Linked DNA regions of Homo sapiens: region 1 is linked to region 2. Evidence: promoter capture Hi-C in human tissues and cell types (Jung and others, 2019). All regions are on one chromosome and are shown on one strand. Each heading gives the region's core, a stretch centred on a gene start or on the middle of the fragment in contact. The rest is flanking DNA. Distances are from core to core; before and after follow the strand shown. Region 1 holds the start of LOC124902813 (a long non-coding RNA gene). Region 2 holds the start of GRIA4 (glutamate ionotropic receptor AMPA type subunit 4).

Region 1 (5,946 bases), core at 2,713-5,212, 650 kb before region 2:
CTTCCAGAGGAGACAGCATCAGAGATATATGCTCCTAGGGCACCTTGTATCTCCTTAGAGTAGCATTTTTTTTCCATTTATTTATTTATGTATTTATATATTTTTGTGAGACAGAGTCTCACTCTGTCACCCAGGCTGAAGTGCAGTGGTGCTATCTTGGCTCACTGCAATCTCTGCCTCCCGGATTCAAGCGATTCTCCTGCCTCAGCCTTCTGAGTAGCTAGGACTACAGGTGCACACAACCACGCCTGGCTAATTTTTGTATTTTTAGTAGAGATGGGGATTCACCATGTTGGCCAGGCTGATCTCGAACTCCTGACCTCAGGTGATCCACCCATCTTGGTCTCCCAAATTGCTGCTATTGGATTACAGGCCTGAGCCACCACATCCAGCCTTTTTTTTTATTTTTCCATTTAATTGTGATTCCCAGCCTACTTATCTCTATCCACTGTTAGAATTTATGCTCTGTGAGGACAGGGGCCATGAACTACATCTGCACTATTTTTGGCATTCTTTTTACTAGTTATTTACTGAATATTTACTAATTATTTACTGAATCAGTAGTCAAGTCCATGTAGGAACAAATGAATAAAACTTATGTGTGGCTCAACTCTTAAGGAATATGAAACCACCTTTGCAAAATTATAACTGAGGAAATTACAACAATGAACGAAATCAGACTGGGAAAGCCTTTGTGGCTACCTGCTTGTGGTTTGGTGCCCCCGCTCCAGCGATGGATCCAGAAGGTAGCCCAAGTAGCCGCCTAGTTCTCTTGGACTGGGGGCTGGCTCTGGTACTCTCTCCACTGGCAGGCACTGCCAACCCAATGTGCATGCATTTAATTGCAACGGAGAAATAATCCTGGAGAGATGTCCTCTAACTGTGGCCCTATCACAGGGTTTCCGTCTGTAGCTGCATTGAAGGGTGTCTGGATTGGTGAGTATCCTAGGTGCTGCCAATGCCTCCTTCCTTCTCCTGACTGGTTCTGTGGCCCCATAGTGGGGTGTCTGTCTGTAGCCCCATTGCAGGGTGTTAGGATTGGTGAATCTACTAGGCACTGCTAATGCCTCCTTCCTTCTCTCGACTTGTCTGTAGCTCTATGATGGGGTGTCTGTAGCCCCATTGCAGGGTGTCTGTAGCCCCATTGCAGGGTGTCTGTTTGTAGCTCCACCACGGGGTATCTGTTCGGCTCCACTGGGGTCTTGGTTGGCTCTAACTAGTAGGAAGAGTCTTGGTTCACGAGACTTGTCCTCAATCAGGACAATTTTGAGATTTCTCAGACAGAGAATAGGAGGATAGTTTGGAAGGGATACTCTTGGAGTTCCTGTTTAGGGATCATCTGATTTGGAAGGCCTTCTGTCTGTCTCATCTTCGTGTGTGTTTGTATATGTGGAGGGAATCTCAGAAGGAATTGCTGAAGGAAGTCCAGCAGGCCTAACTCAGAGGACTCTTCTTATTTGGTTACATTCGATGAGCCCTGGAGAAAGTTCAATAGGCCTGTCTCATGGTGACTATCTGCTCTTTGCCTTACCCAGAGACCCCATTGTGAATTACTGTTCTGAGGTCGTCCCTCCCCACCTGGAGTGGATCAAAGACAACAGGGACGAACAGAAAAAAGTCTGAGCTTTGCCAGGTTGATATTGGGTGCTGAACGAGGTGACTAGTGTCTGTTTTGTTATGTGAATTCTGCTGGGATAGAAAATGTTAAATGGTTCCCCATGCAGCTGGTTGGGCAGCATCTTGCATTTTAAGAATCTTGCCTATGTTTCCATAAAACAGAAAATGGTGACTTTTTTCTTGTAAAGTGGCTTGAACCCCACAACTATGGTGAGGTGAGCAGGCTGATCAGAAGCCGTTCCGTTCTTCTGGAAGTTACAGAGAAAAGGCACCCAGAAATCTGGTATGCCAGCAAAAAGTGTAAGAAATTCTTACCAGCTAGGTTTCTGGTCTCTCTCTCTTTCTCCATCTGTGTAAACAGTAAACATCACTATATGTTTCTCTGTAAAGTTTTGATTAATAGAAAAAAGAATTTACAAGACTAGTCTTAGCCTATAGCAAATCTGGTGTATTTTTGCTAAGAATTTGTCTTTCAGTGTTCTGTAATGGAAAGAGGGGTATCACAAGATAGAACATGGGTTTAGGACCCCTATAAGCCTGCTTTTCAAGCCAGCTCAGCAGGCTGGCCAATTATAATGGGTCCCTGAAACCAATACTGTATGAAATTTCTCTGTCTTGTTTGGCCTCCTTAAGAGCTTAATCTTGTGACCATATGTGGATACTTCCTTTTGGTTTATACCATCCAGCCCTAAAAATTTTTCTTGAGCAGTTAAAAGCCTTGGCAAGGTTAAAAGTGGCTTCTCTAGTCTCCTTCTTGGAATAGCAATAGAAACTGCTCAATGCTGTAATTCAGTAGCTAAGACTTTGCCTTTTGACATAGAGGCTCAGGCTCTATTCTTGGCTTCTGGAACAATTTCCTTCTGGTTTGCTATTTGCATAACTTTGCCATTTAATGAGGTTCCCCCACAACCCCATGGATAGCTTCTGATTTCCTCTCTTGAATTTTCCTTTCTCTGGACTACCTTGGGGAAATTCTAAATCTTGTAAAAAGAAACTGCTTACCACACCTTTGAAGCACCTGGGAAGTTACTTTTGATAAAGTTCAAAAGCCAGAAATGTTGGCCGCATGGCTAAAGTTGGGTAATACGAAATTTAAAAGGATTTTGTTAAGAGCACTAAGGTTAAAAGTCAGCTTAATTAAAAGTGAATAAACAAGTTATGGATACATTTAAAAGACCTTTATGTTTTTCTCTTCTTGGATCTCGTTTTTCTGTAAAAGAGGGTTTTTTCTTCTTAGTAAACTGAATTATTTTTCTCCATTTTTTGTCTTGCCACTCTTAATGCACACATAAGAGGCACTAAGATAACTTTTGGTAGCCTGAGACTCCTTGAGAAAAACAGAGGAAGCACCACAGACCCCATTTTGGGAAAAACAAACAACAAGAAACAAACAAAAAACCCTCTGTTTTCTTCATGACAACCAAGGAATTAAAAGTAGATGGATCACTCTCAAAATCAAAGGCTCTGTTCTGTTTTGCATTGTGTTATCTGACAGTTTGAATTTTGGGGATATCAGAAATTACTTTGCATTATGAGATAGCTTTGGTATGTAATAACTAGGTAGGAAATATACTTTAAGGGATGGCTAATAGTATTTTCAGAGGGAAACTTGGCTCTTCGCACACTTGGGTCAGAGAAGCATGCTCTGGGCCACCTGGAAGATACGGAAACATCCCCATGCCTGACTGAGAGATGAGACTTCCATGGGGGATGGGCTGATTTCAAAATGGGTTGATTGGCTTTAGGTTGCCTTGCAATAAAATGCAGGTTAGAAGCACTGCACTCTCTTCTCCAGTAGTATTTCCTTCCTTTTGGGGATCTGGGATCCAGTATAAAATGGCATCCTTCATTTTGGAGATCTGTCTTTGCCTTCAGCTGTGCCTGCTTATTTAGCTTGGAAAAAAAATGCATGCTTTCCTGGCCCTGTTCCTCCAAGGGCTCCACTCTGAAGCCAGTAGTCCAGTTAACAACTGGCAAATAAAAAATCTTACAAGTGCTGAATTTTCTGTCTGTCTGTGTATTTATATAAACTTCTATAATTCTGATAAAATTTACTGTACATTATTAGTAATTATAATTGTTATACAAAATTGTTGGATGCCACAGAAGTAAGCAAAATTCCTAGTCAATTATAGCTTTAATAGTGTCTATAGACTTTTGTCATCCACAGACATTTTGTCTTGCTTTGGTCGTTTTCAAAAGGCAGTTTATAATCAGGTATAGGACTCTGAGTGCAGGTCTCAGATAACTTTAAAAATTGTGCTATTGGAATAGAGGAAAAAAACAAAACTTCCAGGACTCTCATGAAGAGCTGATGTCTTAAATGTCACCAATCCTTCAGTTTTCACAGTCAAGATAACTTATTTCTTTAGAGATATTTGCAACTTTTAACAAGTAGGTAAAATACACTCCTGTGAAAAAATTTTGAAGCATATTTGTTTCTCTCTACCTGATTTCTCCAGAATTTGGAAACTCTTTGTAAGTATTCTCAATTTATGGCAGCATGGTTAATTCCATAAGCACAATAAAAATCTGTTTTCTTTTGTAACATGACACAATTGGAGAAATTGGTTATTTTACCAAGGCTTTGACTGGAATGGCACTCTTCCCTTAAAGAATCGAAGTTGACTTACAGAGCCAATAAAAGCCCCTTGGGGAATCTGGCTTCATACCTTGTCTACACAGAGTCCTTGTACAAGGTTCTTGATCTGTAGTAAGTAAAGAATATCACTTTCTAACAGGTTCATGAGCTCCAAGTTATCTTGGGACCTTGAGAGGAGAGGAATTTACCCAACTCATAGGTATTTAAGGGTACAAATGCATGGCTGGGATTGGCTCTTAAAAAGTCTTATCTGAGATTCCTCATGGAACAGAGTTCCATCAAAGCCAATTTAAACAAAAAACAGCCTAAATAAAAAATAATTATTCTTGTTGCACTTCATGCAAATAATCAGGCCAAGTACAGTAAGACTAAAGCTTATTTTGGTAAACAGATTAGTTCTATTATAATTTACTTTTAATAAAAATAGGGTCTGGAGAGAAAAATTATGCTTCAAAAGAAAACATATAATATACCCATTGTTAGTTTTGTTTGAGTTTTTTCCTACAGTTTGGACTAAATCCTAAATTCTTTGTGGATTAGAAGTCCCCAAATTAATGCTTTCCAATCTTTGCTTTTAAAATTGAGAATTGTACTCCTCATCCTAGGATTTGTTATTTACCTTACAGGAGGCTGTTGGCTTAAATATTATAGCAAAACTACAGAGGAGAGTACTAATGTTTTTGCATTGCAAGCATTGGAAGCCCAGCCAGTCCTGCATGAGTATGCTCAGACAGTTGCAAAGTGGTTACATTCTTCTCACCTTGGGGTTCACTCTAATTTCCACTATGTCTCCTGTCAGCAGGAAGAAGCCAGAGTGATCGACAGCCTTTTCCCATCTTCATAGCCTACACCTTAAGATTAAGCTATTAGAAAACCCAAACAGAGGGATTGAAACTGCCTTTGCAATATTATAACTGAGGTAATTACGACAGTGAAAGAAATAAGACCTAACCAACTCTATCTTGCTTCTATCCCTTAAGCTGTTCTTATTCATTCCTGGGCATAGGCCGAACTGACTTTGGGAAGGAATTCAGTTCATGGTTTGACTGAAACAAAACCGGTAACAGCCTTTTCTCGAAAAGACCCTCTTCTTGCCTGGGGTCCAGTCTCCCTTTGCAGGACTAACAAATTAGCTACAAGACTAAAAATTACAATGTAAGGGACATGCAGCCTCTGGCTCCTAGAATTGGAATGTCCCCATTGTGCTCCCAGGGATAATATCACTTTATAAAATCTAATATCAGCACTTAAGATATTTTTCAGACGCTGCACTCAATGGATCAGCTGACACCACCCAAACCAGTAATCTAACCCAACCAGTTCTGCCATCACACCCAGGAAGAGAACACAGCAAGAAAACCTCACTTTGACACCCTATGATTCCATCTCCCACCTGAGTAATCAGCACTTCCTACTTCCCAAGCCCCTAGCTGCCAAATTATCTTTAAACGTTCTTATTTCTGAATGCTCGGGGAGACTGATTTAAGTAATAATAACACTACCCTCTCCAGAACAGCCGGATCTGCGTGAATTACTCTTACGCCATTGCAATTCCCCTGTCTTGATAAATTGGCTCTGTCTAAGCAGTGGGCAAGGTGAACCCACCTGGTGATTACAAATTCTTAATAGCAAACCAGGTAAGTTTGATTTCATTTAATAGATGATAGTTGCATGTTGGATATTTCAACAGAAGGAAGGCATGTTCATTCCCCTATCCATTCAGGTAT
Region 2 (6,544 bases), core at 3,829-6,328:
TAAAAAGGTAAAGCAATATATTCTGTGAGGCACTAGGGTATTGTTCCTATTGCTGGAAAGTGACAGCAGCAAAATATATGAAAACTGGAAAGTATCAGCTTAACTGGAGAAAAATATATAGGCACTGAAAAAAACTAGGTTTTGCAAAGAAATCATTAAACTAGTAAATACACAAATAAATTTATTAAATTGTTGGTAGTCATTTGAATAATGTACTCACTTCTTTTAGGACAGAATATCACAAAAAGTGCCATATATTTATATTAATGTTTGTGAAATTTGATGTTTCCTAGGAATACAGATAACTAACAATAATAGACATGGGTTTTCAGTAATCACCAGTAGCTGAAAACAAAAATATAGTACCAAAAATTCAATTGTTTTTGGAGAACTTAAGTTTAGGTTTAATATAATAGATAAATGTATTTAACTTGGCTGTGGGAACTAGGTTTCTTAATGTTGGAGAAGTAAGGTACGGATAAGCAAGAAGGGAGATTAGAATGAATGCTGTAGTACTGAATTTTAGTTGCGAACATCGGTAACAACTCATTTTTAACTTAATACATAGATAGATGGATAGAGAAACAATTATAGGTATGTACACCAACACGGGTTATACATGTATAACCAAGCACTGTCCTATGTGAGAGTCTGGAAGCAATGACAACTCAGTAACAGTTAGCAACCCCATTGCTAGATCTTGGTTTTTAAATACCAATCTGCAATGAAAAGAATCAGGACTCCTTATTGAAAAGGCTCATACTAAGGCTAGGGCAAGGAATATAAAAGGTAATGTACAGACAGCTTCCTATAGTGACAATAAGGCTGGAAATGTTCAGAAAACAAAAGGATGGACATATATCAATAGCTCCTAATGTCCAAAGCTGGACCAACTTGAACAGCACAATAAATAACAAATAGCATAGTATCAGACTATATAACCCAAAGTATAAAATAAACCTAAATTATCATCAATGATAGACTGGATAAAGAAAATGTGATACATATACACCATGGAATACTATGCAGCCATAAAAAAGAACAAGAACATGTCTGTAGCAGGAACATGGATGGAGTTGGAGACCATGATCCTTAGCAAACTGACACAGGAACAGTAAACCAAGTGATGAGAACACATAGACACACAGAGAGGAACAACACACACTGGGGCCTTTTGGAGGGTGGAGGGTGTGAGAAGGGAGAGGATCAGGAAAAATAACTAATGGGTAGTAGGCTTAATATCTGGGTGATAAAATGATCTGTACAACAAACCCCCATGACTCAAGTTTACCTATGTAACAAACCTGCACATGTATCCCTGTGCTTAAATGTTAAAAAATAATATAAACACATAAATATACATGTGTCCACACTGATTTAAATTAATGACTACGTTTTTTCAAAATGGGAGAGAAGAGACGATGCTTCAATACAAAAATTTCAAGTAATTTATGTAGATACTCTCCCCTCGTGGAGAGTAGGATATAGTTAGTTACTCACTTCCAAGGAATACAGTATGGAATAAAAACAAACAAACAAACAGTTAATTTAGAGTGGATAAAATGTGCAAAAACACTTTAACCAACTGATGAAGGTTAATGTCACCAGTGACGTCAGGGGATATCATGGATTCCATTGTATGATGTGTTGAGAAGAGCATTTCACCTGTATGGTACTCTTTTCTGAAAATCCATAACCCCAGTCTGATCCTGAGAAAAGTATCAGGCAAATCCCAATTGAGAGACATTCTGCAAACACCTATCCAGTACTTATCAAGCTGTTGATGTCATATGAAAAACGAAGATGAAACTGTCACAAAACAGAACAAGGAGCTATGACAACTAAATATAATGAGGTGTCCGGAGCTAGATCCTGGCACAGAAAAATACTCTAATGGAAAAACTGATATAACTGTAAATAAAGTCTGGTGTTTAATTAACAGTGACATACCTGTGTCAGTTTCTTATTTTTGACAAAGGTACCAGAGTAATGTAAGATGATAACATTAAGGAAAACTGAAATTGGATGAAGGGTACAGGGGAACTCTCCGTAGTTAATTAGAAACACTTATGTAAATAAAATTATTCCAAATGAAAGGTTTATTATTAAAAATATGGGTTGGTTTCCTAGCATCAGATTTCTGATCTAAAGTACAAATCTGGTCATTTTGCCCCCTTGCTTATAACCGTTCATTGTTTCTCTGTCTCTATGAGACGAAGACAATGCTTCTGAGTGAGATGGTGCCGAGCCATCTCTTGCTTTGCTTTCCAGCCGCACTTCCACTACTTCCCCTCATATAACCTGAAGTCTAGTTTTACCAAGCTTTTAGCAGTGTCTAGAAAGACATAATTTTTCTCCACTTGATAATCCCTACAAACACATAGCAACTCAGTTCAATTTTATTTTTCTCTCTGTGAGTTCTCCCTGAATTCCCTCAAAGTCAGAGTTAGACACTCTATTTTGCTCACATGGCACTCTGCACCTCACTCTATAAGAGCCTTTATCACATTTTGGGGGGCAACTCATTATTGACAAGAGTTGCCAGTTATGTGCCAGAACTGTGTTGAAAGTTTACTTATATCCTGTCAGAAAAGAAATGTTAGGTAATATATCCAAGTCAATACAGCTAAGAAATTGAGGGCCTGTAATCTGAAACCAGTTACTAATTATTAGTCTGAAAGCCTGAGGTCTTTCAGGTAGAACACACTACCTTTCTGAATGCTAGGATTCTTGTAGTTTACTTTTCAGCTCCCAGACCCCTCGTCACTCCTTAAACTCATTAACACAGCAGGTTTTAATAAAGACAGCCCAGTCTCTGAAATCAGACAACTTGAGTCCCATCCTTAGTTATGGTTTCATCACTTACCAAGAATATAATCTTGAGAAAGAATCTAAATCTTTAGTTGGGTTACCTAACAAATGCAAGGATACCTAAAATTTTCTGTAGATCAGGTAATATATGTATGGCTTCAGCACAATACCTTGCACATTAGTGAGCATTCATAAACATTAAGAGTCTTCTAAGAATATCAGGGATTTTGTTTTGTTCAACTTTATATCTCAAACACTTGGAGAATAAATACACATCATAGGTGCTTAATATATAACTATTTGACATATATGTACATCTATATACATGTATATACGTATATAATATATGTATATATGATATTTCTATGTATCATACAGAGAAAATATATTTGATACATACATTTATAAATATATGTGTATATAATACAGATAAAGAGAGTTTAGGTTTAGAAAGTAAAATAGAGGTTTTAACTACTTGGGAAAATAGAAATTAAAAACAACTGGATTACTATTTTGGAAAAATATAGTTGTGTCATCTGTGGTTATATTAGTCCAGGTGTTATCATGACAGTTAAGTGGGGAAAAAAAACTTGTCCTGCATCTATATCAATGATGCTATTACATCATATGAAAACTGAAATCTTTCAATTTTGAGAAGAATTAAAGTTAATAATTGCCTCTGGATCAGGAAGAGCTTCACTAGTTACCCAAGCAAGTGATGAGTTTAACAGTTTGGTGGATTTTGAAATTTTAATTTAACTTGAATTTTATGTGTCATACTCTATTATCCTTTTTCAAGAGAAAACAGAATGCTATTATTCACAGCCTTGTTTTTTAACACAGAAAAATAAAAAAAGGAAAAATGCTTCAAATTTCACTTGACTTGCAAGACTAAAACTTCACAAACTAAAATGACAAATGTATGATTTGTAAAATACAGTTACAATTAGGTTTTTTTTTTCATAACAATCTGTGGTGAAATGTAACGGGAAAGCAGACACTTATTTTAAAGATGCAATTTTAAAAATAAAATTCAAAACTTAGGAAATAGAAAAGCACTCAAGTTTTAGCAGGGATTTTAAAATGTCATCTACAAACTACAAATACAGGTAATCAGTGACACCAAATAAAGTATTTTGAAAGAGTTAAGGTAATGTATATTTCAAAAAGCCGTTACCAGGCTTTCTGTAAGTCCCTTGCAAGAATTCCACTTTAAGCATTGTAGTCTCAAATATTATATCAGGCAAACCTAGGCATTTGCTATATTCTTTTTAAAAATTTAATGGCAGACATCACCCTAGGTTCCCTAACGTTTAAGGAGAACCTCTCCTTCTAATGATTCTCTCACACAGCTTATTGGAACAGGAGATTGTATTTACTAACTAGATCAGGAAATCTCAAACCATACAGAGGAAATCAGAAACCGGTCACTCACGGCTACCACAGTGACTGCTTCTGAGTGTGGTTCAAGCTCAGTCCAGGACAGGCAGATGAAAGGACAATCTTAAAGGTGACTCTGGAGAGCAAGTGAGACTGTAACCCCAAAACTTTCTAGGATAATTCATTTTCACTTCTACCCAGTCAAAACAACTATTGACATCATCACTGAAGTGCTTAAGTCTACCTGGAGGTGGCGTGGAGCAGAGTGAGCATTCCAGAGTCCCAGACAAGAGGAGATGTGCACGAAACACTATCTTCCTGTCAGACACCTGTGCCCACTGCCCCAAGCACTGCCCCTCTGGTCCTTCATCAGCCTTTGCGCTGTGTCCCTCCTGCTCCTGCAATGGGCCACAGCACAGAAGGAAAGAGTCCTCCGGAATGGGTGACTGTATAGAAAGCAATCGAATCTTTAATCACTTTTCCTACTTTACACTTCACGCAGTTCTTATTCCTATCCCTGCTTCATGCCTTTCCAAGAGAATGTTAGAGGCCTCTTTCAATTTTCATTTCTCAGTCTTTTCCCCATCCCGTTCAGTACCCTAAACTTCGTCAGTTATTTAAAATAACCTTTTACCCCCTCCTCCCCTTCCCAGGATGTTTCAACTTCTCTGGCTCTCTTCCCCATCCTTACCTCCTCCAATTCTTTCATCCTGGTCCTGGCCTCTTAAACCCGCCAGGGGCTGCCCTTTGCCTGTCTTTTCTCCTCCCATCCCTCTCTGAACCCTTTCACCTCATCCATTCCCTTGTCAGGCTCTCCAGATTCCCGGGCTGTTTGCTGGTGAGAAATCTTTGCTGCAGCGAGGACCGGAGTCCCCCGCGCGCAGCCCAGTGGCAGAAGAGGGCTAGGCTGAGAGGGAAGCCAGGACTGTAGGAGAGGGAGGCAGCCCGTCCTCCTCACGAACCTGCAAGGATGCGGCAGGGGCCTGGGGGCATGGGGAGGTACTAACCCCCCGGAGCCCCCGATTGGGGCTTGCAGACCTGGCCCGTGGGCGGATTTTCTGCCTAGCGCAGCCGAGAAGCAGAGGTGCCAGGAAAACCAAGAGAGGGGCGCTGGGGGTGCCCATCCCCAGAGTCGGTCCCTCTGCGAACCGAGGAAGAAAAGAGGAGGGAGTCAGCGAGTGGTCAGAAGGGAAAACCTGACACCAGACTGGCTCCGGAGCGTCCGGGAGACTGGGGCGCTCCGGTGAGCACCCAGGGGGTGAAGCCAGCCGAGCGGTGGGCGAGGGGCGTGCGGAGGGAGTGCGCGCTCGAGGAGGGGACGCCAGGAGGGCAGCGATGCTCCGGGCTGGTGCAGGCTTGCTGGGGGATGTCGGCTGATGCGAGCTGGAGAGCGCGTGTGGCGGCCGCGGCGCCAGTGTTTGTGTGTATGTGAGAAAGCAAGGGGCGAGCGCGAGTGCGAGTGAGGCAAAGATAGAGCGCATGTCTCATCCCTGCGAGCAGCCACTAGACGCTCCACCACCATCTTTTGCATGTGCAACATTTGCAGCCGGACAGAAAACCTCTCCCAGGGCTATGGAGACTGCGGGAAAAATCTGGCGGCTCGCGATGGATTGCTAAGGAGAACTAGTCATAATCTTAAACCACCGAAACCTCTTTCCTTTTTTTTCTTTCTTTTCTTTCTTTTCTTTTTTTTTTTTTTTTTTTGGTTGATTTTAATTTTAGCGCCATCGTCTTCAATGCTTCTCTGAACAGCCTTTAGGAAGAGTGCGAGAGAAAGAGAGAGAGCGCGCGCCAGGGAGAGGAGAAAAGAAGATGAGGATTATTTCCAGACAGATTGTCTTGTTATTTTCTGGATTTTGGGGACTCGCCATGGGAGCCTTTCCGAGCAGCGTGCAAATAGGTAAGGTGTGCTCCGATGGGGTGTGCATGTGGCTGGTTGTAGCAGATATCCGAAAGTGAGTTAAATGAGTTGCTGATAAGCAATTCAGGGAAACCTTCAGCAGTTCCCTTCCCCTCTGTTTCCCTCCTCTTCCTTTCTCTCCTTTGCAAAAAGACTTCCTCTTTAGTGCAGGTTCCGTTGGAATACACCCAGGGCAGCCCACCCATGCGTTCTCAGCCCATAGCCCTATTTCCACCTTTACCTATAGTCGCTTAAGTAGGATTGAAATAAGTTGGGGGAAAGTCTTCGGGGAATTTGGTTGTATTTTATATGATATTTATTTCCATCCCTTTCTCTAAAGCATAAAGTGATGTCGAGTTTGTTTAAAAAAGAAAAAAAAAATCCACTTCTTCCCATTCTGGACGCCGCAGCTTTCTTGCTATTACAGAAAGACACTGTTTGAGGAAAAAGACA

The links. Contacts are between HindIII fragments. The study calls those that stand out against the background at their distance.
Region 1: a fragment that was not itself captured here is called in contact with the fragment with the promoter of GRIA4 in region 2 in 1 of the 25 tissues and cell types used here (mesendoderm cells).

What each region holds. Positions count from the first base shown.
Region 1 is chr11:104,960,381-104,966,326 of GRCh38, forward strand. All of the region lies in intron 1 of CASP4 (caspase 4), which reads right to left. LOC124902813 (a long non-coding RNA gene) reads left to right here and starts at 63. Exons shown (of 2, transcript XR_007062986.1): 1 at 63-5,946. The HindIII fragment of the contact is 5,410 bases long and covers 1,258-5,946 here.
Region 2 is chr11:105,604,995-105,611,538 of GRCh38, forward strand. GRIA4 (glutamate ionotropic receptor AMPA type subunit 4) reads left to right here and starts at 5,079. Exons shown (of 17, transcript NM_000829.4): 1 at 5,079-5,434; 2 at 5,914-6,091. The coding sequence starts at 6,004. RefSeq lists a silencer at 6,055-6,255. The HindIII fragment of the contact is 8,669 bases long and covers 576-6,544 here.